Linked DNA regions of Homo sapiens: all the other regions are linked to region 1. Evidence: promoter capture Hi-C in human tissues and cell types (Jung and others, 2019). All regions are on one chromosome and are shown on one strand. The core of a region is centred on a gene start or on the middle of the fragment in contact, and the rest is flanking DNA. Distances in the headings are between cores, read along the strand shown. Region 1 holds the start of ETV6 (ETS variant transcription factor 6). Region 2 holds the start of DUSP16 (dual specificity phosphatase 16). Region 3 overlaps DUSP16 (dual specificity phosphatase 16). Region 4 overlaps LRP6 (LDL receptor related protein 6). Region 5 overlaps LRP6 (LDL receptor related protein 6).

Region 1 (5,806 bases), core at 1,182-3,681:
TTTTTTCTTCGTGTTATATAAGTATCTACCTGACATTCTCAATTTTGTCTCTTGGCCCACAAAGACTAAGGCATTTACAGCTGGGCCCTTTACAGAGATTGGCAACCCCTGGTCTAAATGTAGTTTTTGCTACAGTTGTCAACTATGTTTTTTGCTTTGGAACCACAAACATTCTACTTCAAACTACTACTTCTATGAATCACTTGTAGACGTTGAGGAGGAGTTAGGAAGAAAAGTCGAGAACTAATTTAGTCCTGGGGTTAAATAATAATTGTAGCCAACTTGAATTGAGCACATATATTGTGCAGCTCTCTGCTAAGGAGGCATTTGTATATATTTTCTTATTTAATAAGATAATCTTATGAGCTAGGTACTATTTCTCCCCATTTTACAGAAGCTTAGTGACTGTGTTGTCAGGGATCACATTGCTAAGTGATGTGGAAGACATAACCTAGCAATGGGACATCTAAACCAATGTCTGCAACATCAATTAAGAAAAGCAAAAGAGGCCGGGCGCGGTGGCTCACGCCTGTAATCCCAGCAATTTGGGAGGCCGAAGTGGGTGGATCACGAGGTCAGGAGATTGAGACCACGGTGAAACCCCGTCTCTACTAAAAATACAAAAAAGATTAGCCGGGCGCGGTGGCGGGCACCTGTAGTCCCAGCTACTCGGGAGGCTGAAGCAGGAGAATGACGTGAACCCGGGAGGCGGAGCTTCCAGTGAGCCGATATCGTACCACTGCACTCCAGCCTGGGCGACATAGCAGACTCCGTCTTAAAAAAAAAAAAAAAAAAGCAAAAGAATACAGAAAATTGTTAAAGGGGAGAAGGGGGTGGTCAAAGGCAGAGGAGTCGGTGTGGACAAGACAGAGATCTCTTGGAGAGAGGGCAGGACTACCAGTTGACAAAACCTGTTCAGGTTCCTGGAGGCTCACAACCACCAGTTCCCATCATCCCAGCAACAGCACTCTTTCCCACCCTAGCCTCGTTCGTAATGATCTGATCAATGTGTGAACAAAAATATTGTGTGTACAAGTCTCAACACATTTGATAATGTGAAGAGGTGAAGGAAAGTGGGTAGGAAAAATCTGTAGGGTGGGGAGACTCGGGGAAATGTGTCCTGGTCCAGTGCAGGTAACATATATGGGTATATATGCGTATATACATATTTATACCATATTTAATATATTACTCTATTAAGAAATTATAACAAATTTCCTTTTACATTACACATCCACATATTAAACCCCCAATATGTGCTAACAAGGTTAGAATTTAAGTATAATGATAATGTTCTCAGTTTTTTGTGGTGGACACTTTAAGAGAGTGTAAATAATAATAAAAATAATAGAGTGATCAGATCACTTGTGCTCAGGGCTAGACCCTTCAGCCCCAACGGCCTTAACCCCCCTCAACTGCTTTTCCAACCAAATATTCCTCCCCCTGCAGGATCCCAGGGCCATCCAATCAACCGGCCAATGACGGTTTCAGAGAAGCGGTCCTGGGGAGGGGTATTATCTGCAGGAACACGTCCTGCCAACTTTGTAGTCGAGTCACCTATTTCGGTTGGTAGCGGCCGCTATTTCTTTAAAAGGGCAGTGGATTTCGAAACAGGAGGGGGAGGTCAGGAAAAGGAACTCAGCTGCCTTTGATAACTGCCCTGCAGCCTTCCCTTCCCGGAGCGCGTGCTCGGCTCGGGAAGCGCCCGCGGCCGCCGCATCCCCGAGCGGGCGCGTGGCGCCACCTCTTTCCGGGGCGCCCACCTTCCCCGGGAATCCCCCCGCCCGACGGTCCCCCAGCGTCTGCGGCGCGGCCGCCCCGGCTTTGTCTCCGGCGTCGCGCTCGGGCGCCCGCTCTCCCCACATTTCCCCGTGTGCAGGCTGTAACCCGATCTCCCATTTCCTGGTGGATTCTCTTAAAGAGGCAGCGGTCGAGAAGCAGAACAAAGGCTATTGTTTTATTTCCTCCTTCGGATTCCGCGTCCTAACCGGAATGGCCCTTCATAGATAATTACTTTCGTTGCATCTGCGCTTAGTGAAACGTTTCAAAACCCTTGTGCACATCGATGTATCCAAGAGACGGAGCCAGGGGAGGTGGGAGGAGTTTAATAAAACCTGTTTTGTGGTGTCTGGGGCCACAATGTAACGTTTTTTAAAGGTGTCTTCCTTAAGCCCGGAAATTGGCTCGGCCAGCGGGAGGTCTCGCGGCGTGGAGGGCGGGCGCCCGCACCGGGGGCCGGCCTGGGGGGCTGCGCCGCTCGCCCCGCTCGCAGCCGCGGCCCCACGCGGCCCCGCTACCCGGGTTTCCTCCGCCCGCGCCCCCGCGGCCGCCCCTCCCCCGCGCAGCTTTTATTTCCCCGATGCCGGGCTGTAACCCGAGCTTTTATTTCCTGGTGGCTCCTTTAAGAGGCAGAGCTCAGTGCTGGGAATTCACGTCAGTTTCTGCACTGAAACTCTCAAGATCAATGAGCAAAGAGCTTTCTCAGTTCTGCCTTTCAGTTTCTCTCTTCCAGGAAGGAAAACATTCGAGAGAGCGAGGGAGAGCCGCGGGAGGGCGGGGGGCGGGGGCGCCGGCTGCGGGTGGGAGGAGAGACCGGGAGGCCGGCCGGGCTGCGTCCCGGGTCCCCGCGCCGCGCCGCGACCTGCAGACCCCGCCGCCGCGCTCGGGCCCGTCTCCCACGCCCCCGCCGCCCCGCGCGCCCAACTCCGCCGGCCGCCCCGCCCCGCCCCGCGCGCTCCAGACCCCCGGGGCGGCTGCCGGGAGAGATGCTGGAAGAAACTTCTTAAATGACCGCGTCTGGCTGGCCGTGGAGCCTTTCTGGGTTGGGGAGAGGAAAGGAAAGTGGAAAAAACCTGAGAACTTCCTGATCTCTCTCGCTGTGAGACATGTCTGAGACTCCTGCTCAGTGTAGCATTAAGGTAAAAATCTTCTCCCCTCCTTCTACGTGGTGGAAACCCTGAGCTGCACCGGCCAGGGCAGTCGTGCTGGGCTCCTCAGAGCAGGCTGTTGCAGTTGCTCTGTTCGCAGGAAATTATTTGGGGCGAGAGGGAAAGAGATGCAGCTCGCGGTGGCTGCTGTACCCTTTAGCGTAACCTTGCTACTCCCCCCCACCGCCGAGCCCCTGCCGGCTCCTCGGCCCCCACCCCCTTGCTTTTTGACAATGAAATGCCGGTCACAATTGGTCAGAGCAACCCGGATTGTCTCCAGAACCGTAAAACACCCCCGTAATTAGTGCGCTTAAAAAAAAAAAAAACAAAAAACAAAAAAAAAAAACCTGCTCCCTATTCCTACACCCAACATGTGACTGAAATATAACTTTTGTTCCCGAGGGGTGGTCGTCTTAGAAAAAAAGTTGTTCAGTTTCCACTGCGATAGAATCTTTTTATTTTTTTAAAGGACTCTCTGGGTCTGATCAGACAGGATTTTTTTCCCCCTCGTCTGATTGTAATTGCAAGCGCTGTCGGAGAGACAGTCCTGGTGTCAGCTTTTCCTAGGCATTGCACAATGAATTTTTTTTTAAAACCAAGGTGAATAAAGTTGCTGAATAGTTATTTTACTCCGATCCATATGAAAGTTGAGCAATCCCAAAGTAGAAAACTCCTGTGATGGAGGGAGAGGAAGAACTAAGCAACCAGGCAAAATGACCTTCTGTGTTTGACAGTGCAGAGAGGCTATCTAAGCAGCACTCTGTAAATGCAGGGCGGTAGATGTTTGTAAACACACTGCTGGGCTACCCAGTAGTTGTGTGTATGCATGTCTATATATCTGTAAAGACTGTGGTGCTGCGGTTTGTTGCTTCTAAAAAGTTGTTGTAAAGTTTGCCACCATTGGGAGGCAGGATGATTTATCCATCTACCCGTGTTATTTTTCCCATCGCTGCATTTATTGTACACTTTATTCATTTCGCTGTTCCACCAGTACCCAGGTAGAAAGCCTTCCGCTCTTGTGAGAGGCTGAAGCTGCTGAAGTTTGTTTTTGGTTTGGCCTATTTAATGTGTGTTCACTGAATGGACACTACAGCAACAATGAACAAATAACCTGTTTTCTTCGTCTGTGGGGAGTTAGAAAAACCCTTCCTGGTTTAACACTGCCTTTCAATTAGAGTCTGTGTAGGGGAAACGCAGTAGTTCATCATACGTGCTTACTAGGTTTTTTATAATTAGAATCACATTTTGGTGTTTCTTATCAGAAAAGATATTCATGGGTTTGAGGATAGGCTAATGTGAAATCAAAAGGTGGTTTGGGCTTCTTTGTTTTTGCCTCACAAAAATGCCTAATGGAACTTTTAGGCTTTTGTGTTTGTACATAACTGGAGGTAGCAGTATGTATGTCTGTGGGCATGGGGCGTGCCACACTAAAGAACTTAGGGTACTTTGATATTAATACTTCAAAACCAGTTTCTTTTGCGGTATAAATTAGATTCTACACAGAGTTCAGGAAAATCCTGCGGTATAGATAATCTAATTTATTTGACGCTTCATAACATAGAGGTAACTAAATAGTAGGATATTCAATAAATAAATTGTATTTGGCTCAGTGGCAATAAACCCGACATCAGGAAAATCTGCCAACTACAGATCAGTAACTTTAGGGCAAAAACAACAAAAAACAATGCTTTCTGTGACGTTTCTTGATCCTCTTCTATACTGCATCCCCACCGTTTTGATGGGCTTATGGTGGTGTGCTGGCTGCAGACTGCTACTGAGTGGTTTGTTTCATTGTGCTCCAGTCGGAAAAAGAGTACAACAGTCCCTTGCCTTACTCACATACAGAACCAATCCCAAGCAAAACGCGTTCTTAAATGCAACATGAAAATTGTCTGTAATTTGCATATCATTTTTTTCCTTATTGCTTACAACTCAGTTCTTTCAGGGTGCCTCTTTTCATTACTGTGTACTTCTATGTAATTAAAATAGATTTAATGTTCTTTACCAGAAAGGAAAGAATCACTTTTATTTTGGATCGTTCTTTATGGAACGAGTATGTATTTGCTTAGACTGCATGTGTCTAGGTGAACGTATGTGAAGAGTATCTTTCCATGGAGTTTGTTTAATTCAGTGTTCCAATAATAAGCACTAGAGATCAAGGACTGGGATTATTCCAGGTCATCTGAAATGTTCTGGTGATGTGTGCTGCGTTTCATTTAGTCCTTGGGATGTGGTACGGTGACTGCATAATAAAAAATGTTTGCTGGTAACCCACAAGCAAGTTGCTTGCTTCTAGAGTCCAGTAAACAATATGCTTTTCTGTGTAGTGAAGAACGAATGTCAGAGGTTTTCAAGGATGAGCTGATGAACCTGATATACCGAACTCCTGTGACACAAAAGGCTCTCACTGTGGAGAGGTTTTTCCCAGTCCTCCTCTCCACTCCTGAAACCGTCCTCACTTGCTTTCATTCCTTACAAGTAGCGGGTCAGCAGGCAGACAGTTCCTCAGCGGCTGGTGAGATGCAGCCACAGAGGGAAGTACTTTGTTTATTTCTGAGCAGTGCCTGCTCTGCTAGAAAAGAGTAGTGTCCGATTTGGGTGGAGTTTCCAAGGTGAAAGTTTCTGAATTGGTCAATCAGTGACGCCTTTGTAAAGATGGCTCATGTGGTGGTCGCTCGCAATGAATGCCTGATAAGGGCTTTTCTGTTTCTTTTGCACTGTGTAAGTTTGCTCCCATCGCCTGGGGAAGTTAATATCAGACACACACTTTTTACGGTAGAAGAGAGGTTGACTACTCCAAGGGCACTGAAACTCTCACTGAGCCTTATTGTTTCTCTACACGCGACTTGCAGAAAGCAGGAGTGCTCGAGCACTCCTGG
Region 2 (5,806 bases), core at 1-2,500, 910 kb after region 1:
CCGTCACCACCCAGGTGGCCTCGCTGCTTACACCAAAGGCGAACTGGGGATAATGGGAACAGTCAGGCCAGGGCCCCACTTGGCAGGCGTGTTGTGTAACAGTCGCGCCTGGAAGTGAGCAGCTTCGCCCGCAAAGGTGCCGCGTCCCGCGGCGGCCGCTCCTCTCGGCGGGGCCCGGTCCAAGCGCCGCGCAGCGGCCGGGAGCGCACCCACTGCGACCCCGCGCCCGGCCGCACGCCCCCTTCCCGCTCCGGCCAGCCTCCGGCCAGGCCTACACCCCCGCTTCAAACGCTCCTGCGGCCCCCGGCCGCGGTCGCCCCCACGCCGCCTCCCGAAAGGGTGGCCGGTACGCCCGGGAAGGCAGAGACGGCGGGGCTGGAGCGCGGCGCCCGGCACCGGGAGTCGGGGCGCGCTGCGGAGCGTCCATGCGGCCGGGCGGGAGGGCGCCCCGGGCCCCGCACCCTCCCGCCCGCACACCCCGCGCGGCCCGCCAAGGCCACTTACTTTTGGGGCCGCCGACCTCCCAATTCCCTCAGAGGGAAACGAAAGTTGTCACGGCGTCTCCCCTCGGGCCCCCCTCGCCTCCCGGACTTGCGAGGCGCCGCCGCGGAGCCGAGAGGGCGGCTGCGCTCCCGCTCGCGTCCCGTCCCGTCGCTCTCCTCCTCCTCTTCTTTTCAGTATATTATCTTCTCCTTCTCTGAGGGGTGGGTTGGGGCGGGAGGCTTAGGAAGAGAGGAGACGCTCGCAACTTTTCTTCACTCTTTCTCTTCCACCCTCCCCCCCATCAGCCTTCAAAAAAAATGTCGAAAGAGATGAAGAACTTAGGGAGGTAAAGGTGGGGGGCCGCGTTGTGAAAGTGGGGGTTGGGGGGGAGAGAGAGGTGGTAATAATCGTTTAAAAACTGATTAAAGCCCCCCAAACACTGATACATAGAAAGAGGGGGAAAGGCGGGGGGGTGGGGTGGGGGGTTGGGGGAAAGAGAAAGAGTCGCTGGTCAGGAAACTTCAAGCGCGGATGAGGTCATTGGTTTAAAAATAAAGAGATGGCGTCACTTGAAACCAATCCCAGTGAATGAACTCAGCGGAGCCCCGGGGAAAGGAGGAGACAGGCGAGGGCAGGGCGGTGGGCGCCGGGCGGGGCCGCGCGCTCGCCCATCCCGCGGCCGCCCGAGCCCGGAGCGCGGCTCCGCGCCTCGTTCCGGCCGCTCGGGGAGGGGTCAGGTCATGTTCCCTTCCAGAGTCCGGCGACTCTGAGGCAGGTTCCGCGGGCGCCGCTGGGAGGAGCCGGAGCTGCCGGAGGAGGCGGCCCCGCGGCCTCCTCCCCCACCTCTCCCTCCTCCTCCTCCTCCTCCCGCGCCCGCGCGCCCGCCCCCTACCCCCGGGCTCGCGGCCCCGACCCCCGGGCCGGGGTGTCCGCCTCCAGTGCTGCGCCCCAACAGGTATCGGAGGGTTTTCTCCCTCACCCAGACGCAGAACCTTTCCCTCCTCCTTGAGCTGTTTCCAGCTGCCTCACCAACGTCAAAAAACGCAAACACTGATTTGAGAGAATTACACTCGCTCTGTAAAAAGTCTGGCGAATGCAAAAGGCAAGGCTCTGCCATCTCTCAGGAGAGAAGTTACAGGTACTTCAAGAAAAATCACACTACTGTTGTCAGGCATTCAGCTATCTATATGTTTATGGTTGAAAGCCCCCACATAAATGTTCCTACATTACTTTACTTTGCTTATATTTACAAATACAAGGATAAGCAGCCTACATTTTCTTTAAAAATGTTTTCTACAGGAGGCAGCGCAGAAACATCTTTAAATAAGACCAGGGGTTAACCGCCTCTTGAGAGGTACAAAACCCTTGTTGATTTAACTCCACATACCTCGTGCATTTTATTATTTGAATTCATTAAAATGTCTGTTTTGAGATGACATTATGCACTTTGGAAAACGAGAGACCTGAGGTGGTGACAAACCAGGACTTGGAATCACTGAATAGGACAATCGGAGCTTTATTCCAATGTTCTTTGAGCATTTGAGCATGAAGCTGCTTCTACTGAGAAGTACTCACGTGGATATCACATAACAAAGATGTGATTAATGACGGAAAAGCACCCTGCGAGTGGACTGCTCCATGAGCCAGAATTTATGTGTAGGAATAATCTAACTCTTCAAATATTCCATTTACAATGTGCCGGATTGGGACACTAGACCCTAAAGGCACTGTTTGCTGTGGGATATCCATGTGCACCCTGCCTAAAGCACGTTTTTCCACTAGCAAAAGAACTGATAAGCAGGTTTGGGTGGGTTCGAAAGATAATACACCCCTGTTACTACTTTTCTGCCTTTAAGTCCTGCAACTAAAGGCATTCCTTATGATTGGTAATCATTGAAGGTTAGTGTTGCGGGGTATGGCCCTGGGAACTTCTGGCCCATCTTTTATAGGAGGGAAAAAAAAAGCCCATTTGAAGATGGGAGGCACCCTAGCACCTCTGGCAGTAGTAGGTAAAGCCTGAAGGCCACAGATGGAGAAGCAACTTTGAGCCTGTGCCTCTGGCCTCTTGAAGACTTTGCTAGGGGAAGCAAATCTCTCCCACTGCTCCCTGTCCTCTGGTGGCCAGGAGGTGTTACTGCAGCTTCCTTGGGATTATTTGTGCTCTACCAGGAAACCCCTAAAAATCTAACTGTAGACCTTTGTTGGAGGTGTTGGGATTTTTAGGAAGGAAGAAGAAGATAGTCCTTTTACTAGTGGTACAGAGCATGGATCTTGCCTGGAGGAAAGATTCATGAGAATTAATGGTATCCCCTTTGCATGCCAAAGTTCCAGTAACCTTGCTTTAACTGACATGGCTTGAAACGTTTCTCCCCTTTCCTCAGTTACACAATTAAGTTTGTGTAATGTATGATGTGGTGCCATCATAGCTATCATAGAAGTCTCTCAGGGTATTTCATCTATTTCTGGAAACAAGACGTATATTAAAGCTCATTAAAAACGAAATCAATGATTGAGTGATGTACAATATTGGTTAAAAGAGTCAGGGGGCCGGGCGTGGTGGCTTAAGCCTATAATCCCAGCACTTTGGGAGGCCCGAGGCGGGTGGATCATGAGGTCAAGAGATCGAGACCATCCTGGCCAACATGGTGAAACCCCGTCTCTACTAAAAATACAAAAATTAGCCAGGCGTGGTGGTGGGCGCCTGTAGTCCCAGCTACTCAGGAGGCTGAGGCAGAAGAATCACTTGAACCCGGGAGGTGGAGGTTGCAATGAGCCGAGATCGCACCACTGCACTCCAGACTCCAGCCTGGCAACAGAGTGAGACTCCATCTCAAAAAAAAAAAAAAAAACAAACAAACAAAAAAAAACATCAGGGGAGAAAAGGAGCAATGTAGGCTGGGATTATCAGGGAAGGCACCTTATAAAGAGTTTTGACCTTATCCTTGAAGGACAGTTCAGATTTAGTTTGCAGTGAAGAAGCCAGTGGAGGGAAGATTCCAGAGGGCAAATGGCAATGAGCCAAGACATGGAGGTGGAATGAATAATGAGTAAGGTGTATTCAAGTGACAGAAGAGTAAACCCAGTAGCAGTAGAAATCGGTATTTAGCAATTAGGTATGAGGTTAAATTTAAGAGATACAGAGGCACATTGTGGAGGTACTTGAATGTTAGAATAAATAGATTGTTACCTGCCCAGCAGGTGAAGGGGAAACCACTAAACAAGTTTACTTCACCGAAGAGTACATTTCTTTCTTTTACTAAGAAAGGTTTTCTACATACTAACAATAAATATGTGGAAACAGCCCTCTCCCTCTCCCGCTCCCGCTCCCGCTCCCTCTCTTTCCACGATCTCCCTCTGATGCCGAGCCGAAGCTGGACTATACTGCTGCCATCTCGGCTCACTGCAACCTCCCTGCCTGATTCTCCTGCCTTAGCCTGCTGAGTGCCTGCGATTGCAGGCACGCACCGCCACGCCTGACTGGTTTTCGTATTTTTTTGGTGGAGACGGGGTTTCGCTGTGTTGGCCGGGCTGGTCTCCAGCTCCTAACCGTGAGTGATCCGCCAGCCTCGGCCTCCTGAGGTGCCGGGATTGCAGACTGAGTCTGGTTCACTCAGTGCTCAATGGTGCCCAGGCTGGAGTGCAGTGGCGTGATCTCGGCTCGCTACAACCTCCACCTCCCAGCCGCCTGCCTTGGCCTCCCAAAGTGCTGAGAGTGCAGCCTCTGCCCGGCCGCCACCCCATCTGGGAAGTGAGGAGCGTCTCTGCCTGGCTGCCCATCGTCTGGGACGTGAGGAGCCCCTCTGCCTGGCTGCCCCATCTGGAAGTGAGGAGCGTCTCTGCCCGGCCGCCATCCCATCTAGGAAGTGAGGAGCGCCTCTTCCCGGCTGCCATCCCATCTAGGAAGTGAGGAGCGTCTCTGCCCGGCCGCCCATCGTCTGAGATGTGGGGAGCGCCTCTGCCCCGCCGCCCCGTCTGGGAGGTGAGGAGCGTCTCTGCCCAGCCACCCCGTCTGAGAAGGGAGGAGACCCTCCGCCCGGCAGCCGCCCCGTCTGCGAAGTGAGGAGCCCCTCCGCCCGGCAGCCACCCCGTCTGGGAAGTGAGGAGCGTCTCCGCCCGGCAGCCACCCAGTCCGGGAAGGAGGTGGGGCTCAGCCCCCGCCAGGCCAGCCGCCCTGTCTGGGAGGGAGGTGGGGGGGTCAGCCCCACGCCTGGCCAGCCGCCCCGTCCGGGAGGTGAGGGGCGCCTCTGCCCGGCCGCCCCTACTGGGAAGTGAGGAGCCCCTCTGCCTGGCCACCACCCCGTCTGGGAGGTGTACCCAACAGCTCATTGAGAACGGGCCATGATGACAATGGCGGTTTTGTGGAATGGAAAGGGGGGGAAGGTGGGGAAAAGATTGAGAAATCAGATGGTTGCCGTGTCTGTGTAGAAAGAAGTAGACATGGGAGACTTTTCATTTTGTTCTGTACTAAGAAAAATTCTTCTGCCTTGGGATCCTGTTGATCTGTGACCTTACCCCCAACCCTGTGCTCTCTGAAACATGTGCTGTGTCCACTCAGGGTTAAATGGATTAAGGGCGGTGCAAGATGTGCTTTGTTAAACAGATGCTTGAAGGCAGCATGCTCGTTAAGAGTCATCACCACTCCTTAATCTCAAGTACCCAGTGACACAGACACTGCGGAAGGCCGCGGGGTCCTCTGCCTAGGAAAACCAGAGACCTTTGTTCACTTGTTTATCTGCTGACCTTCCCTCCACTATTGTCCTGTGACCCTGCCAAATCCCCCTCTGCGAGAAACACCCAAGAATGATCAATAAAAAAAAAATAATAAAAAATAAAAAATAATAATAAAAAATGTGGAAACAGAAATTAAAAACAGAACCATTTTACAATTGCTCCAAAGAACGTGAAATATTTACATATAAATCTAACAAAACATGTACAACATCTGTGTGATGAAAATTATAAAATGCTGATGAAAGAAATTAAAGAAGACAAATAATTGGAATGGCATACTATATTCATGGATTGGAAGAATCAATAAACATGTCATTTCTTCCCAAATTGATCTATAGAGTTAACGTAATTTTCATCAATATCCCAGCAAGGTTTTTTGTAGTCATAAGCAATCTTAAACTAAAACAGTGTCCAACACATCTAGAGGACTGAGTGAGTGCTAGACTCCCCCAAGACAGAGGAAGAGCACATACACTTAGGGCACCAGCAAGGCAGGGAGTCCAAGGTTTACAATCAGATAATCTAGAAAGAAGCTATTTTTGCTTCAGTACATGTAAGTGTGTGGTTTAGTACTGTTTTTTAGTTAGAGTTA
Region 3 (5,806 bases), core at 1,081-3,580, 860 kb after region 1:
CATCTCACAAAACTTATCCCATAAATGACACCTCCAAAAGAGCTTGCCCTATATTAAACAACCCTATCACGTGACACAGTTGGGAAATGGGAAATTCTATCTAATTTTGGTATTAGGACATATGCAACAGTTATGACATACACAACAGTTATGACATACACAACAAATGAATGAAAAATTTTCAAAGCACCAGCAGACAAATCACTAAACACTAAAATTATGCAACTTATAATTTCTTATGACTCAGAATGTCCAGATCTTATAACTCAGGATAATATTTAAATCAACTCCATCAGCAACATCCAGATGTGTTATTCAAGAAGGAAGAGTTCTCAGAAGATGTAGACTGGTAACTATTCTGCTGATCTTTTAAATTGGCAATACATAACTATGCCCAGAAAAACTCCTCTTAAACGTCCTGAAACAAAGATTGTTCTAAAGACTGCAACCAGAATAACCCATCAAAAGGAATACAGCCAGAATCTACCACTTGGCTGAACAGAATTAACAAGCTCTGTAGGTAGGAGAGCCAGAGTCACAGAGTCTCCCTACTATTTTCCTAACACATCTGTGCTTTCCCGCCTTTAGGCTTTTGAAAAGTCAACCTTTCCAATCCATTTTGTATTTCCTTCTAAACCACAGGCAAGCACAAGTTACACCTCTTCTATAGCAGTATGGTCCCAAAATTTTTTTACCAGGATCAACAAAATACATTTTACACTCAAACCCTCTGAACACCTACACATACTCACCACTAAGACAAAAGTTTCATGATACTATCTTCCCTAATTCTGTTGCGTTTAAAGAAAAAAAAAAAACAAACTTCCTTGAGCAGCGTATCTAGACATGGTCCAGCTTAGAGGCTCTATAAAATTTATACCAATCATTTGGCAGTACCTACCACTGACCTAGTAACTGTGAAATAACTGTGTATGTGTTGTGACCCGTCTTACTTCTCCAGCTATTGTGAGCTGCTTATGGATAAGAATTATCCATAATTCTTTGTAATTACCTCAGCATTTAGCATAGTGCCTGGCACATAATTAGAATTCAATAAATGTTTATTGAATCCTTCCTTGTTACAATGAATAGCTGTTGATGGACATAAGTCTTGTATATTTTTGGTGTTCCGAAGGATTTCCTGATTCCATTCAAAGCCAAAAGCTAGTTGGTGTGGGTGGGGGCACAAAATCTGCTTCCTATTCCTAGACCACAATGCCCCAGAAGACTCTCAGGGTGAGTGAGGAGGCACAGGGCAAGAAAAAAACATTTTTTCTTCTACTACAGGAAAAAAGATAAAATTGGCGAGTGTCACTTTGGTTATCCAAAAGCGACACTGAATCCTTACTATGATTCTGCTGTATCCACAGGACTTTACATAAAAGGGAAAGAAAATTTTTTCTGATGCCCCTAAATGGCGCAGGACTCCACACCGGTGTGGAGAGTCCCGTAATATATCTCCATGGCTCAGGGAATCAGGGCACATCCCATAGGAAACCAATGAGACACCAACTATGATTATACCCCAGATGAGGATGGTGTGGCTGCTGGACATGTCTATAATCATCATCAAAATGGATAATGAAATGAGATTATCCATAGGGGAAACTTGATGAGTCAAGAGGAAAAAGGAATACAAGTCTAGTGTCTGGAGAATTATTCAAGAATAAAATCTGACTAACTTGTAAACTGTCCATGAATCACACTATACAGCTCACTTCTCAGGCTATCCATGTGAAGCGCAAAGCTTTCTAAGCCATCTAGCCACAGGCTCTCCCCTAAGACCACTTCTGTATATTCCACTCTGTGTACAGTCCTCCTCTTTGGCCAACTACACATTTTGACAAGAGACGTCATAGAGCAGTGAGGGAGAAAGGGATAACTGCGTTTCACATATAAGTTCAAAAAACACTTAATAGCACCTACTATGAGTTTGACATAGCGCTAGGTAATGGAACAGTGGTGACCAAGACAGAGAGCCTTCTCTGGAGTTGACAGTTTTATGGGATAAACTTTAACCAAATAATTAGATGAATAATTAACTAATTATGGTAAGTGGCCAAAGGCATATGGAAACCAACTTTGCCTGGTAGCTAGGGAAGGCTTGACAACCACATTGAATCTAGCAGGAAAACAACTAGGTAAATAGCAGAGAGAAGAGCCCAGGGCAGAGGACAGAGCCTCTGTGAAGGCCCAGGGTGCATGATGTCTTAGGTTTAGAGCAACAGGGAGGAGGCCTAAGGAGCTGAGGCAAAACAACAACTGAGGACTTAAAGTGGCACTGGATGAAGTTAGCAAGGTAGGCAGAAGCCAGCCACTGCAGGGCCTTGTGAATCAGTTAAAAATTTTGTAACTTATCTTAAGAGCACTGCATATTATTGATGCATATTAAACTGGGAAGTGATGTAATCTGAATTAGTTAAAAACACAAAATAAAAATGTAACTTTGGCTGCAGTGTGAGCAATGGATTGGAAGGTGGCAAGACAGAGCATGTGAACAGATCAGTTAAGAGGCTCCTGGAGCAACCTGGGGGAGGAATAACATTCAACTGACTTCATGGTAGCAGAAGACCAGAAAACCAGACAGACCGAAGAGGTTGGAAGAAAGATCTGGTGACTAAGAGATGACAGGTATTGCAGCCATATCTCCAATAGCTCACAATACCCATCACCTTAAAGTACAAATTCTTCCTTCTGATTTAAAGAGCTTACATAATTTGATCTCATGTCCTCTCAATTCCCATTTCTCTCCTTCACAAAAAATCCACTCTGGTCTGCTCACTGCCCCTCCAAATCTATGTTCATTCCTGACATTTTTAATCATGTTCTTTCCCCCTCAGAATGCGCAGAACCCTCCCTACCCAAATCTTACTCCTCATCTTTCAAGGTTTGATTAAAATTCCACTGCCCTAATCAAGTCTTCCCTGACTTCTGCAGACTACTCTGAATCATCCCTTATCACTGTATCATACATTTTAGCAAATGATCATATACTTCTCTTTCTTTCATCCACTTTAGGTGCATTTCCCCAAATTAACCACTACATTCTCAAAGGCAGGGGCAAGCCTTTTGCTTTTCCAATATCTTCACCCCCGAGAGCCCAGTCCAAGGCACAGCCATGGAGGCACCCATCAAATATTGAGAGGCTGAGTGAGTGAAAGGGCTGAAGAATATGCTGGACCTGGTGTTTCTCTAGACTACACAGCTGCCCCACCTGGGGCAAGGGAAGATTGATGTCACTGTTGTCATCTGGGATGCTTTTGTTTGGTTTGTGCACAATATCAGGATGGGGAACCAAAGGACTATCTTTAAGCTTTAGTTGGCTCTCTAGTCTGTTTGTTTCAAAAGACAATCTCAAGCATGTGTCTTAGCCACTGGTAGCTGGGAAGAGACATGACTGACTCTCCACACTGGCAGATAGCAATCGGAGAAAAGATGATCCAATTTAGACGAATTCATGCCAACTGAGACTCAGAAACAGAGCCAGAAATACACAGCAGCCAGTGAGCAAACAGCACCTTTTTCCCCAGCTTTATTGAAGTATGATTAACAAACAAAAATTTTATCTGTTTAAGGTGTACAGCATGATGATGTGATATACATATACACTTGGAATGACTACCTTACCTCACATAGCCATGCTCTTTTTGTTGTGGTGAGAACACTTAAGATCTACTCTTTCAGCAAATTTGAAGTATATGGTACGTTTATTGTCAACCGTAGTCACCATGCTGTACAATAGGTCTCTAGAACTTACTCATCATATCACTGAAAGTCTGTACTCTTTAAGCAGCATCTCCCCATTACCCCAGCCCTCCAGCCCCTGGTAACCACCGTTCTACTGTTTTCATGAGTTTGACTCTTTTAGATCCACATGTGATACCATGCAGTATTTGTCTTTCTGTGTCTGGCTTATTTCAATTAGCATAATGTCCTCCAGGTTCACCCATATTGTTGCAAAATGGTAGGATTTCCTTCTTTTTTAAGGCTGAATATTCCATTGTGTGTGTATGTGTGCATACAGCATCTATTTTTAGTCTGTTTTCAGTGACTCTCAGTCACTGTAGTTTTTTAGACCCAAGAGCAGCCAGTTCCTTAATAATTGGCATACTTTTACTGAAATCCATTAATTTCAATCTCATTTACCAAGTTCTACAGGATTCGAAATGGAATTACTGAAGATTTCCCTTCTCCAGACAAAGGAGAAGAAACACCAAACTAGATAACAGAATTTATGGTAATAGCACAAAGAGCAAAATCCATAACCAGGAAGATCAGGTTCTATCATACCTCCATGAGGAAGGACAGTAATCAATTCTATTAAACCAAAAGTATACATTTATTACACAGAACTGTCATCAGAATCTAGATCCTTATTAAATTGAAAATGTGTAGAGTCTAATACATTTTTGTTCACTCGTAGGTCTAACTACAATAGTTAAGTTCAACTCAAAACGAAGAAATGAGTATTTGGCCTTTAACCATAGCAAACATTAATCGAAGACCTTTGCTGTGTTCTTAATAAATGGTATCTTCTATCCTTATTCACAGCTATACACCAGCATAAAACAGAGTAGACTTTTACTTGATGATCTCTTCTGGCTAACATAGTTTAATGCTTTAAAACAATTTATATACAGTGTATTTTTATAGATTGCTATATTCTATAAAGTATGAAGAATATGACTGAAATTCTCAAAAAGACTGAGAAAGAGCTATTACAAAAAGAGCCTTTCAGAATAAGCCTGATCTGAAATGGGCACCCTTGATTCCCAATCTAGCCTCCTGACAAAATTCCAGAAGACTCTGGAATTACTTGTGGATGTGGGCCTTGGGCAGCAAGAGCTTGGGAGAGTCACTCAGCAGCTCTGTTATTTTCCTCATTTGTAAATGAAAGGGCTGAAGTCTGTGGTTCATTTATGGTTTTCTCCCGCAATCGCTGTAGGGTTATTCTGTGCTGCATCACAGGACAGAAGGGAGTGCTGTGGAATTAATAAGCCTGGCAGAGCCCTTTTGCTTTTACTCAGGCTGTACTGGGGAAAGAGAAGGACATAGTAGAACAGCATTTTTCACATGCAGGTTGATCTTTATTTCTACTAAATTAACCCATTTACTCTCTTTTCCATATGTCAGCATAAAATAAAAGCCCAAATTCAATAGTTTTCCTTTTTTTCACATATATTTACTTCTAATCTGGCGCTCTTAGAAATAGACAAGTAGAATAAACTGATACATAGTGAATAAGTAAAAGCCAAGAAACAAGTTTATTTTTCAGAGAACTAGTTTTCTGCAGGTTGTTGAAAACACCAAAAAAGTTGCTCAATAAATCAATGTTGGCAACTGATTTTTTGGGTTTTCAAACTCATACTGATAAGTTTCTTATTTTTTTTTGAAGGATAGTCTTTTAGACTATTGATACAGAAATTTCACATCCATTGTCTAATACAATCCTCATAATAAGGCAAGCGTTATTATCTCTTTTTAGGAGCTGAAAAAATACAAGATAATTCAGGTTAAATGACTTATCCAAAGTTGCCATAAGGAGCAGAGACACACACAGAAAACACAGGCTACAGCTTTGACCCCTAGTCCATTGTTCTTTCCAGCTTAAAGGGATTTCCTCAATGCAGATGTTAGATCACCTAGGGAATGGGTGTGGGCATGGCACTGAGTTGATCAGAAGACCCTGAAACCTTCTGCAGATGCAGATACAGAGCCTGTGCTCAGGTAATACCTTTACCACTAGGACCTAGTTTTTCTTCCTCCTGCTCTTTTCTGATCCTTTTTCTTTAGTCAATATCTAAAG
Region 4 (5,806 bases), core at 977-3,476, 590 kb after region 1:
ACTGTTTTCTCTACTTTTATGTAGCTGAAATTTCTTCATAAGGGGGCACAAGGAACTTCTAAAAAAATTAAAATATAGTCACTGATATTAAAACCTCAATTAACATGTTAAACTGCAAAGTTAGGCACAGCTGAAGAAAGAATTTTGTATCTAGATGGCAGGTACAAAAGAAAAAAAAAAACAGAAAGTGGCTCAGAGAAATAATGAGAGAGAAGATAAAAGAGCAAAATTAAGAGGAAAGGAACAGGGAATTAGAAAGGAACACATATCAAACAAGAGTTCCAAAGGAGACTAAGGAGAACGAAGGAAAATTAAGAAAAAAAAGGATAAGAATTCTCTAGAATTAACAAACGACAAAAATGCTTAGATTCTAGAAATATGAATCCTAACCAGGATAAATAAAAATATATCCACATCTAGACACAGGGTAGACAAAGCTGCAAAATACCAAAAATCAAGAGAAGCTTTTAAAAACCACAAAAATATTAAAAAAGATAAATGATAAATTACAATGCAATACAGACTTAATCGTACCAACAATTAAAGCCATACACCCTCAAAGGTCTGAGTGAAAATAACTAATCACGTAGAATTCTATACTCAACTAATTATCATTTCAAGAATGAGGGCAAAATAAATACATTTTTAGACAAAGACCAAGAGTTACTATTAACAGACGCTTATTGAAAGAAACACTGAAGGGCATACTTCAAACAAAAGGAAGCTGAATCCAAATGGATTAACTGGGATGCAAAAAGCAATGGTAAAATAAGAAATTGCTACACTGAGTAAACCTAAAAACATGAAACTTATTTTAAAAGGTCCTTTAAACAAAGCTACCATGTTCAATTTTTTAAAGTAATTCAACTCGTAAAAAAAACACAAAAAACAAAAAACAATGGCTTCAGTAAGATACCTTTCACAAAGAAAAAAAGCACCAAACACGGAATTCAAAAATTTCAACTAAGAATATAGCTCCCTCTCATTTATCTTGGTCAAAGGCCTTGGTTTCTTCACCCAAAGAAGGGAAGGAAGGCATTTAGCTAGAGGATCCTTAAGATTCCCTTCCAGTTCTAGGATTCAAGGGATAGAAAACAGACCTTCCCAATTTAACAGAACATCCTTCAAAACTGTAAGTTGTTTACACCAAGATCCTTCATACACAGGGACAGTGCTTTAAAGCAAGATCCAGTCTAAAGCTTTAGATTTTAAATAATTGGCTATCTGCTTCTATGCAAAAGCCAACTGGAAACGGATATGATCTCAGAAAAAGAACAAAGAAAATAATGCACTTTTAAACTGTTCCATTTTTAAAGAGCTGATGGAGGAAGGAAAGGCACGGTCCAAGTGGTAGGACAATGGAAACAGTACAAAACTCAATAAGCTTAAGTGAAAATTTCTAAAAGAAATATAGTATCAATATCAATTGTTACAAAAATAAAAACAGTCATATTTTATTCCTAGTTCACAAATTAGCTGACAAACCCCTCCTTCCAAAATCTTAAAGATTCATTGTAATTTCTGAAGAGTCATCAACTCTGGAATACATCGAAGGTAGACAAAATCCCCAAGTGCAGGCAGCCTATACTCATAAAGGTACCCTATTCTTTTTCTTTTTTTTTTTTCATCTCCAGCCATACAGAGGAAGGTATCCTTTTCTTTATAATCACCAAGTTTCAATCTTCTACTAAGGATGAATGAAAAGCTCAATGTTACAAGCAAAGAAAGCTTTTATTAAAAAGCAAAGCTATTAAAATACTGTGTTATGTAAAGGCATTCAGTTATACTACAACTACTCCCCTTCAAAATTCCTTCAATAAATGCTAGGAGATATGGAGCATAAAAAAGTAGACAATACAATTGAAACTTATTAATTTGAGACACGGTGATGGATATTACTTGATATGAAGAAACTAAAACTGGATGAGAGTTAAGATATTAAAAAAAAAAAAACCCTACATTAACATTTGAGAACACATGTACACACACACACACAAAGAGACACACACCACGAGTTTGTTGTTTCTTAATTTCCAAGACCCTGATTCATATGCCATTCAAGCTAAACCCATAATCCAGATTTCCCGAAAAGATCAGTGGTTCTTCTAACACATCACTCTTATTTTTTAGATAATGATCTCAAAAAACCTCATCTCCAAACATATGTGAATCTATATAATCTGCCTAAATGTAACTGGCTACATTTTCCACTTTCCATACAAAAAGAATCTTTTTATGGCCGGGCACAGTGGCTCACGCCTGTAATGCCAGCACTTTGGGAGGCCGAGGCGGGCAGATCATGAGGTCAGGAGATCGAGACCATCCTGGCTAACATGGCAAAACCCGTCTCTACTAAAAATACAAAAAATTAGCTAGGCAAAGTGGCAGGTGCCCGTAGTCCCAGCTACTCGGGAGGCTGAGGCAGGAAAATGGTGTGAACCCAGGAGGCGGAGCTTGCAGTGAGCCAAGATCGCGCCACTGCACTCCAGCCTGGGCAACAGAGTGAGACTCCATCTCAAAAATAAATAAATAAATAATAAATAAAAATACATACTTTTAAAATATAAATATCATTCAAAGCTGTTTAATATAAATTCACTTCAAATTGAATCATTAAAGTTTAACTTTATAAAAAAAATCTAAAATGATTTGGAATATGAAAGGATCCTAAACAAACAAACAAAACACCCTTAAACTTGACACAGGTCCTCAACATCACCAAGATTAGTACGGTTGCTTAGCATGGTAACTGTGGAATCAGACTGAGGGGCTCCAGCATTAGGAGCAGCCACATAGGAATCACCTCTACTCACTGTAACATAAGACAACTGTTTACTGTAACTCTGGTTGTTCATTTCTCTAACAATTTCATACACACATCTTCCCGTTGCTTAGTCTGAACTGTATACTGCTAGTCATTATCATAAGGAAAAAAAAATCTCAGACTAATATAATAGAGGCCAAATTTAGAGAGAGGAATAAAAATCTTCCTTCAGTCTAGGCTAAATGGACTGATTACACAAAGAACTCCATACATCCGAAAGCACACAGATGTCTGCACTAGTTCCCAGGGCTCAAACAATACCAGTCATTCAATAGCTTTCCCTTTACGTAAGTTGCTATGAGAGAGCTCAATCAGCTCTTGTGAACCTCATAATCCAGGATCCTGGAACTCTGAAAAGTCTACATTTTTCCTCAGCACTGTTTTCATGTACTTTGTCTGGAACTCAAACTTCGTATTTCCCCCAAAAAATAAATCTGGAAATCATCTCTTCTGTTTGACAAATGATGTACTCTACCTATAATTACTTTTCAACTAAAACCACAATCCACGATACAAATCTAAGATCATTAACACTGAAAGATCATCTGATGAATATATTTTTCAGTGTAGGAGTTTAAAATATAATTTTAAATACGCTCCATCATTTGTACATATATCAAATGTATATATACCATTTGACCAGATTCTATTTGTTTCCAGTTGAGTCGTTTTTAAAATAACCATGACACAAAATGACTTCTCAAAATTAAAAGAAATTTTGAGAGGACTGTTAAAGCTGGGGAGGGGGGTTGAATTTACCCGCTCTCTCTCCCCTACTCTCCCCTCCTCTGCCTCCCACATTAACCACACACATCAAAAATAATACAAAATATTTCACTGGGTGTTTGACCAAGCCTTTAGTCCACAGAAAGAGTTATTCTTCACTGAACCACCTTCAGAAGCTAAATAACACTACCTTCTACCTTCAAAGTAAATTGCTACTGATTCTTCCAATAATCTTTTTTATCAGCTAAGTCTTTGGTGAATTCTCACATTCAATAATGAGAAATAACAAGGATAAATTAAAGCCACAGAAACTCTAAAGTATTTTTTAATCAAATGGCGAAATTACTTCAGAAGATACTTATCAGACCTGCTACCCAGAAGTAAAGCTCATTAGTTTTGGGGAACAAAATGAAAATGATTAATTTACTCACTGAACTGTTAGATCCTGAAGAGTCAAGAGGAACTATATACATTCAGTTCCCTTTAATAATGTACTATCAGGTAATCATTAATCTCTTATAGAAATGATCAAGATCCCATTCCAAAATTTGGTAATGAAGCTCATAACAGCTCTTGTGCCCCTTCTAATTATTTTAACACTCTTCCTCTCTTCACATTCATGTTACATAATGCAAATAAACATGCTTTGAAGAAGAAAAAGTTGTCTCTCCCAAGTTTTCTGTCCTTAAACAGTAAAGATAAACCAAACCCCCTCTCTCCAACCAGAGTACAAAATGCAGAACTCTGAACATAATAACCATTTAACAGATATTTCATTAAATTTCAATCATCACCCTTACAGTGGTAAAATTGAACTTGTCAAGAAGAGGGGAAAAAAGAACTTTATCTTTTCACCACGGTATTCTTCCCTAATGACGACTACAAGCACCAAAATCCTATGTGTTCTACAAAGCAGTAACCTCAGAAACATTTCAACACCCTCTGAGCCTTACAAACTCTGTTAGCAAAACACAAACTCCGTTTCTCAAAAATATCTATAAAGTTCTCAACAACCAAATTCTTTGATAACTACAGTTACATCTGAGACCTCCTCCTCAGGACATCCAATCGTTTTTCCTACGATCAGAGCCACTACAATATTTCCTGGTGCTTTAAGAGCACCATCTTGCTTCAACAAACACGTTTTAATTTCACTCTAAAAAATACATATTTGTATTTCCAGACATCTCCCTCTAAAATTTCCCTATACTACTGCCCACATAATCCTTTACAGTCAAATCAGTCTTCTCATTTTTCTACAACATGGCATCCTGTTCAACCTCTGTAACCAGGCCTGATATCAAGATAAAGAAGCACATATAAACCTTTCTTCCATTCTCCCCAAGTTCTCATTTATTACATAAAAAGAATTCACTCCTTTCTATAAGTGAAATGAGTTTTAAAGCATTCTAATACAACTGAAAGCTAAAGAAAACAAAGTATTAAAATAGTACAGGTTATTTATCTTTGGATTTTAACCAAATATTAGTCATTTTAGGTTCATGTTCAGATAGTTATCTATACTTAGCCATGACAGACTAGCCATGACAATTTATTCAATAAAGAAATATCACAAAATGGTGTATACTAATAGTAGAAATGAGACATAGTAACAGAGAAGCAATGTGAGGATACAGTTCACACTCTGAAATGAGATTTACTCAGAGCTTTAAGTTTTCCTTCTCATTAGAAAATAAACCTTTATTGCAAATATATGTTTAGCTAACTAGAAATGAGTTATTTAATAATTTTTATTTTTCATTCAATACTGACATTAAATAACGCTTCAGAGTGTAACAAAAAAACACTAGTATCACAGTATCATTGTGTATATAATAAAAGGTATAAGATCTAGATTAGTCTATCTCATCTTGGGCTATCAAATACTTCTCATTTCATTCCTTCTTCTCTCTCTTTAAATTATCTTCTGATATCACAAAAAATAAATACAGAAGAAAACCCAAGAAATATAAACATGGCTATTAGAAACCCAAAACGATTTACAGAAACACTAAGAACACAACACACTGGGCACAGTGGCTCACACCTGTAATCCCAGCACTTGGGGAGGCCAAGGCAGAGCGATTGATCACTTAAGCCCAGGGGTTCAAGACCAGCCTGGGCAACACGGTGAAATTCTGTCTCTACAAAAAAAAATTTTTTTGAGACAAAGTCTCACTCTGTTGCTCAGGCTGGAGTGCAGTGGTGCGATCTCAGCTCACTGCAACCTCTGCCTCCTGGGTTCAAGTGATTTTC
Region 5 (5,806 bases), core at 2,478-4,977, 570 kb after region 1:
ATCCTTTTAGAGACAAAGTAGGAAAAACATTTACTATTTTTTTCAGTTTAGCTATTGGGGATTAAACATTTTTCTTATTAATTTGTATGCACTTTTTATATATCAAGGCTAACTCTATTATTAATATATCTGTTACAAATATTTTTCTTTGTCTTTTTTTGCTTGAATCAAAATTTGGTTGAATCAGTATTTTTCTTTGCAATTTCTTTCATTGCTTTCATGCTTAAAAAGCCCTTCTCTCTTCAAAGATTAAACATTCACGTTTTCATTTGATGTTTAAGTTTTCACTTAAAAATTTTTATCCATCTAAAATGTATCTGAAGTATGACATGAGATACTGATATAAACTGATTTTTTCTTTCCTAACGGTAAATTCTTCTAGTATGACGTCCCTTCCCTCTTGATTCCCACTCCTTTTATCACGTTACAAATTGTAACGTACAGTATTTTCCTAATCTACTTGTTTAATATCTATTTTTTACACCAATAATGTCTCATAGATTTAACATTAGCTCTATTAATACCAGTCTTGGATAATCATGTGACCATAGTTTTAATTTTCATCTGCAAAGTGAATACTTCACTAGTTGATGTAAGGATTAAAGTAAGACACTTTATATAAAAGAAAAGTGTCTTTCCTACTGGCTTTGACCCTTCTGCTCTGATCTGGTTGCAGGACAGTTCTTCATATTTATCATCTTCTCTTAGACTTTTACCATTACCCACCCCATGGGGTCTTTTAGTCATCTAAACTCCCTGCTAATACCTATTTTATAACAGTAACCAACCAAGAAGCCAAGCAGCACCCCACTCTCAAAACACATTTTCAAAAATATGTCATAAGTAAAAGAATATTTATTGGATGCAGGTATATTACAAGAGAAAATTTAGGACAAAATAGCATTTACTCAACAAGAAAAAGGAAATTTTCCTTTATTCTTTAATAAAACATCTCAGTTAATATTTACAAGCACTGGATACAAATACTTCCTTTATGTTAAACCTAACACCCCCTTACCAGTAAAGATAAGCTTCCTTTTCATAACAGGTGAATACAATGTGCCATTCAAAGGCCCAGTCAGCTTACTAAAAACCCATTCTTCAGATATCTCATAAATCAACTATGTTATATAGTAAGAACCTGAAGTCTTTAATCATCATAAACACATTCCTGCAAAATAAATACATAAGCTTAATTCTTAAAAGGCAAAAGCTTAAAATTCATGATCTGATTTGTAAAATATGCTAAGACTAATCTTTTGGTTGCATTTATTTGAAATTTCTAAGTCATGTGAGAACTTTCTTTTTCCTTTAACTATCAGAGCCTATTTCTGTAAGCAAGCATAGAAAAAATAGTTTTCCTGGTTGGGGGAATATGGAATGCGTTTTCTCCATTTGAAACCAACCCATTAGTTCCCTAGATAGGTTTTGGATAAACATAGAAGTTGACCCTTCTGGTCTTAAAGCTTGAATCTTACATTTGTTTTACCTGAGTTCCTTCCTCAGGAAATGACCTTCAGGCTGCTCAAAGTATCAAATAACTGAAACTCACCAGATCACCACATTCAGACAGACAATAAGATGCTAGACAACTCATTCATCATGATTGCTTCCTTGGCCCGCCTTAGTTCCTGTTTCTTTTACATTTCTTCCCTGCTATATGAACCCTTCGTTTTAGTCACTCAGGGAGATGGTTTGAGACTGAGTTCTCATCTTCCTGGCTGCAGCACCCATGGCAATACTTGTTGTCTCAGTCACTGGCTTTCTCTGCAGTGAGCAGCATGACCTAGACCAAACCCCTGGTGTTTTGGTAACTCATTTTTATTTGCAGTTTCTGACATCCTTACAAATAAACATAAAGTTAACATTTTTACAAACACTTCCTAATAAGGAAAAGTTTGAGGAGGGAAGGACATCACAGGGAAATAAATATCACAGGTTCTCCCACTGATCCCTGAGATTTGAGGGGACAGCAAACTGTGCAGAAATAATGAAAAAAAATAATAAAAATAGTCTGATAAAAACAGTACTGTTGTTTACTATTACTAATGGCCTTAATCAGTAAGGACTAAGATTATTTTATTTTATTTTATTTCATTTTGAGACGGAGTTTCACTCTTGTTGCCCAAACTGGAGTGCAATAGCGCGATCTCGGCTCACTGCAACCTCTGCCTCCCGAGTTCAAACAATCCTCCTGCCTCAGCCTCACATGTTGGCCAGGCTGGTCTCAAACTTCTGACCTCAGGTGATCCGCCCGCCTCGGCCTCCCAAAGTGCTGGGATTACAGGCGTGAGCCACCGTGCCTGGCCAAGGACTAAGATTTAAGATTTCAGTAGACAGTGTTTTCAGGTATTAAAGATCAGAGTTTTCTTTTAAGAATCTATTTGTGGCCAGGCGTGGTGGCTCATGCCTGTAATCCCAACACTTTGGGAAGCCAAGGTGGGAGGATCACCTGAGGTCAGGAGTTCGAGACCAGCCTGGCTAACATGGTGAAACCCCGTCTCTACTAAAAATACAAAAATTAGCCAGGCATGGTGGCGAGCACCTGTAATCCCAGCTACTTGGGAAGTTGAAGCAGGAGAATCACTTGAACCCACAAGGCAGAGGTTGCAGTGAGCCAAGATGGGGCCACTGCACTCTAGCCTGGGCGACAAGAGGGAAACTGCCTCAAAAAATAATAATAATAATGATCTATTTGTGTGATAGACTAATGTATCTGCCTAATTGCTTCATCTTTTTCAAAATCTTCAAAGCGGTTATGGTCTTCTATACCTCTCCTCTGGTCCTAATTCGCTGCAACAGACTTTTACTTCACTTTCTTCTGTCTTAATTAAATCCACCCACAGACACACACAAACAGGGAGAAGACAGAAAGATTTGGAGACCCCTCTATCTATCATAAGCCAAAAGCTATTAGATTTCTGAATGTCCTGGATCTTCCAGCACATTTCAAAGTGACTTTGTTACCCACAATGGCCATAATGCAACATTGTTTTATAATGATTTAAATTTGAGGTTTTAAAAAATGATAATAATATAGCCAATTATACTTTTTATTCAGCTGAAAAATATGAGGGCCTGAAAACAATGTAAATAGTATTTGAGAAGAGAAGACAAATCCAAGAGCTACTTAGAAGGCAGAATAAACAAGAATTGGTAACTGATTAAATGTGAGGAGTGAGGAGGTGGGGGCCTAGAATGACTCAGGATTTTTAGTTTCTGCAACCGTTAGGTAGAATGACAGTTGTTCACAAATTCTGATATTTTGTTATAGGGTTTTCTTGGATGTGGTCTTCTCTCTGTACTTAAAATTTAAAAAAAAAAAAAAAGAAAAGAAAAGCTTTGTTAAAGGTTGTTTTCTCAAGCCCCAATAAAACTAACGGATAATCCAAACAGCCTCTTTCCAGACTTCCCATCCCCTACCCTTAAGGCCATTTTCCAGAATACTCTGAAATTAATGATTATATTACCACCACATCCCCTCCCACACACCCTCCCCCTCCCTCCCCCTGCCCCTGCAATCTGGGATTATGTAATTTCCTTACTTTCAGCATGAATCCCAAACTTCTTAGCATGACATATAAGAGCCTTTCTAATTTGTTTCTCTGCTTTTGGTTCCTCATTTCTCACGGCTCTAGTATCCTGCCTATTGCTACCAGACTGCCTTTCATAAAATACAGTATCATGTAAACACAAATCCTTTATAACTGGGGTCCCCAACCTCCAAGCCAGAGACCACTACCAGTTCATGGCCTTTTAGGAACCAGGTCACACAGCAGGAGGTGAGCAACAGGCAAGTGAGCAAAGCTTCATCTGTATTTATAGCCGCTCCCTATCGTTCATATTACTGCCTGAGCTCCGCCTCTGTCAGATCAGTGGAGGTATTAGATTCTCATAAGAGCATAAACCCTATTGTGAACTGCGCATTGCAAGGGATCTAGGTTGCGTGCTCCTTATTAGAATCTAATGCCTTATGATCTGTCACTGTTTCCCATCACCCCTAGATAAGACCATCTAGTTGCAGGAAAAAAACTCAGGGCTCCTACTGATTCTACATTATGGTGAGTTATATAATTATTTCATTATACATCACAATGTAATAATAATAGAAATAAGGTACACAATAAAGGTAATGTGCTTAAGTCATACTGAAACCATCCCTCCAGCCCAGTCCGTGGAAAAACTGTCTTCCACAAAACCAGTCCCTGGTGCCAAAAAGGTAAGGGACCACTGCTTTACGAGACACTCTTAGCTTTAAAAGCTATAGGGACTCAGATTTCCCTATTGCTAAACATACTACAAAGCCACAGTAATCAAGACAGTGTGATACTAGCATAAGGACAGACATCTAGATAAATTTAAAAGAAATGAAAATCCAAAAATAAACCCTTATATTTATGGTCGATTGACTTTCAATGAGGATGTGAAGACAGTTCAGTGGGGAAAAACAGTCTGTTCAACAAATAGTGCTGGGATAACTGGATATCCACATGCAAAACAATGAAGCTGGACCTCTAAAGGACATACAGAAATTAATTCAAAAACGATAAAGACCTGATTGTAAAAGCTAAGACCATAAAACTCTTAGAAGACAATGAGTAAATATTCATGATCCAGAATTAAAAGAATGGTTTCACAGATATAACACTAAAACCACAAGCAACAAAAGAAAAAAACAGATCAGACTTCATCCCAAAACTCCATTATATGTGTGTTTCAAAAGATACCACAAAGAAAGTGAAAAGGCAACCCACAGAACAGGAAATCAGTATTTGCAAATCGTATGTCCGACAAAGGTCTGGTTTCCAGAATATATAAAGAGCTCTTAGAACTCAATAATAAAAGGACTTACCAGGCATAGTGGTTCATACCTATAGTCCCAGCGACTGGGGAGGCCAAAGTGGGAGGACCACTTGAGTCCAGGAGTTCAAGACCAGCCTGGGCAACATAACGAGAACCCCCATCTTTACCAAAAAAATTTAAAAATTTGCCTGGTGTGGTGTCACCCACCTATGGTCCCAGCTACTCAGGAGGCTAAAATGGGAGAATCGCTTGAGCCCAGGGAGTTGAGGCTGCAATGAGCCATGATCATGCCACTACATTCCAGGCTGGGGAACAGACCAAGACCCTCTCTCAATAATAATAATAATAATAATAATAATAATAATAATAATAATACTATACAATTTTAAAATAGGTATTTCACAAATCAAGATTTACAAGTGGTCAAAGCACAGAACATGTTCAACATCAGTCAGTAAGGAAATGTAAATCAAAACCTCAATAAGACATGCCTATACACCCACTAGGATGGTTATAACTTTTTAAAAAAGGAGAGAGGGCCAGGCACAGAGGCTCACACCTGTAATCCCAGCTACAAAGAAGGCTGAGAAGGGAGGATCACTTCAGCCCAGGTGTTTGAGGCTGCAGTAAGCTATGACCATGCCACTGTACTCCAACCCAAGTGACAGAGCAATACCCCCATCTCTTTAAAAAACAAAAAACCAGGAAGAGACAAAGAATAGCAAATATTGCAGGAAAGAGAGAAACTGAAACCCTCATACACTGCTAGTGGAAATATAAAAATGGTAGAGCAAGTTTAAAAAACAATGTGGGGCTGGGTGTGGTTGCTCACGCCTGTAATCCCAGCACTTTGGGAGGCCGAGGCGGGTGATCACCTGAGGTCAGGAGTTTGAGACCAGCCTGGCCGACATGGTGAAATCGCACCGAGATCTCACCACTGCACTCCAGTCTGAGCAACACAGCAAGGCTCCATCTCAAATACAATAAAATAACAACAGATTAC

What was found. The method cuts DNA at HindIII sites, captures the fragments that hold promoters and counts their contacts. A contact is called where the count stands out against the background at its distance.
Region 2: the fragment with the promoter of DUSP16 here is called in contact with the fragment with the promoter of ETV6 in region 1 in 1 of the 25 tissues and cell types used here (hippocampus).
Region 3: a fragment that was not itself captured here is called in contact with the fragment with the promoter of ETV6 in region 1 in 1 of the 25 tissues and cell types used here (hippocampus).
Region 4: a fragment that was not itself captured here is called in contact with the fragment with the promoter of ETV6 in region 1 in 2 of the 25 tissues and cell types used here (dorsolateral prefrontal cortex and mesenchymal stem cells).
Region 5: a fragment that was not itself captured here is called in contact with the fragment with the promoter of ETV6 in region 1 in 2 of the 25 tissues and cell types used here (hippocampus and thymus).

Annotation. Positions count from the first base shown.
Region 1 is chr12:11,647,243-11,653,048 of GRCh38, forward strand. ETV6 (ETS variant transcription factor 6) reads left to right here and starts at 2,432. Exons shown (of 8, transcript NM_001987.5): 1 at 2,432-2,918. The coding sequence starts at 2,886. RefSeq lists enhancers at 1,335-1,434, 5,472-5,581 and silencers at 1,615-1,854, 2,145-2,354, 2,565-2,614, 2,625-2,784. The HindIII fragment of the contact is 9,953 bases long and covers 1-5,806 here.
Region 2 is chr12:12,561,613-12,567,418 of GRCh38, forward strand. It overlaps DUSP16 (dual specificity phosphatase 16), which reads right to left and starts at 1,251. Exons shown (of 7, transcript NM_030640.3): 1 at 505-1,251. RefSeq lists silencers at 151-350, 371-490, 521-600, 1,051-1,560. The HindIII fragment of the contact is 19,289 bases long and covers 1-5,806 here.
Region 3 is chr12:12,508,679-12,514,484 of GRCh38, forward strand. The region is part of intron 3 of DUSP16 (dual specificity phosphatase 16); the gene reads right to left. Among named protein-coding and RNA genes, the nearest start is that of DUSP16, 51 kb to the right of the region's middle. The HindIII fragment of the contact is 5,128 bases long and covers 1-4,894 here.
Region 4 is chr12:12,238,055-12,243,860 of GRCh38, forward strand. The region is part of intron 2 of LRP6 (LDL receptor related protein 6); the gene reads right to left. Among named protein-coding and RNA genes, the nearest start is that of LRP6, 26 kb to the right of the region's middle. The HindIII fragment of the contact is 5,026 bases long and covers 1-4,739 here.
Region 5 is chr12:12,213,342-12,219,147 of GRCh38, forward strand. All of the region lies in intron 2 of LRP6 (LDL receptor related protein 6), which reads right to left. Among named protein-coding and RNA genes, the nearest start is that of LRP6, 51 kb to the right of the region's middle. RefSeq lists an enhancer at 2,246-2,745. The HindIII fragment of the contact is 5,233 bases long and covers 1,112-5,806 here.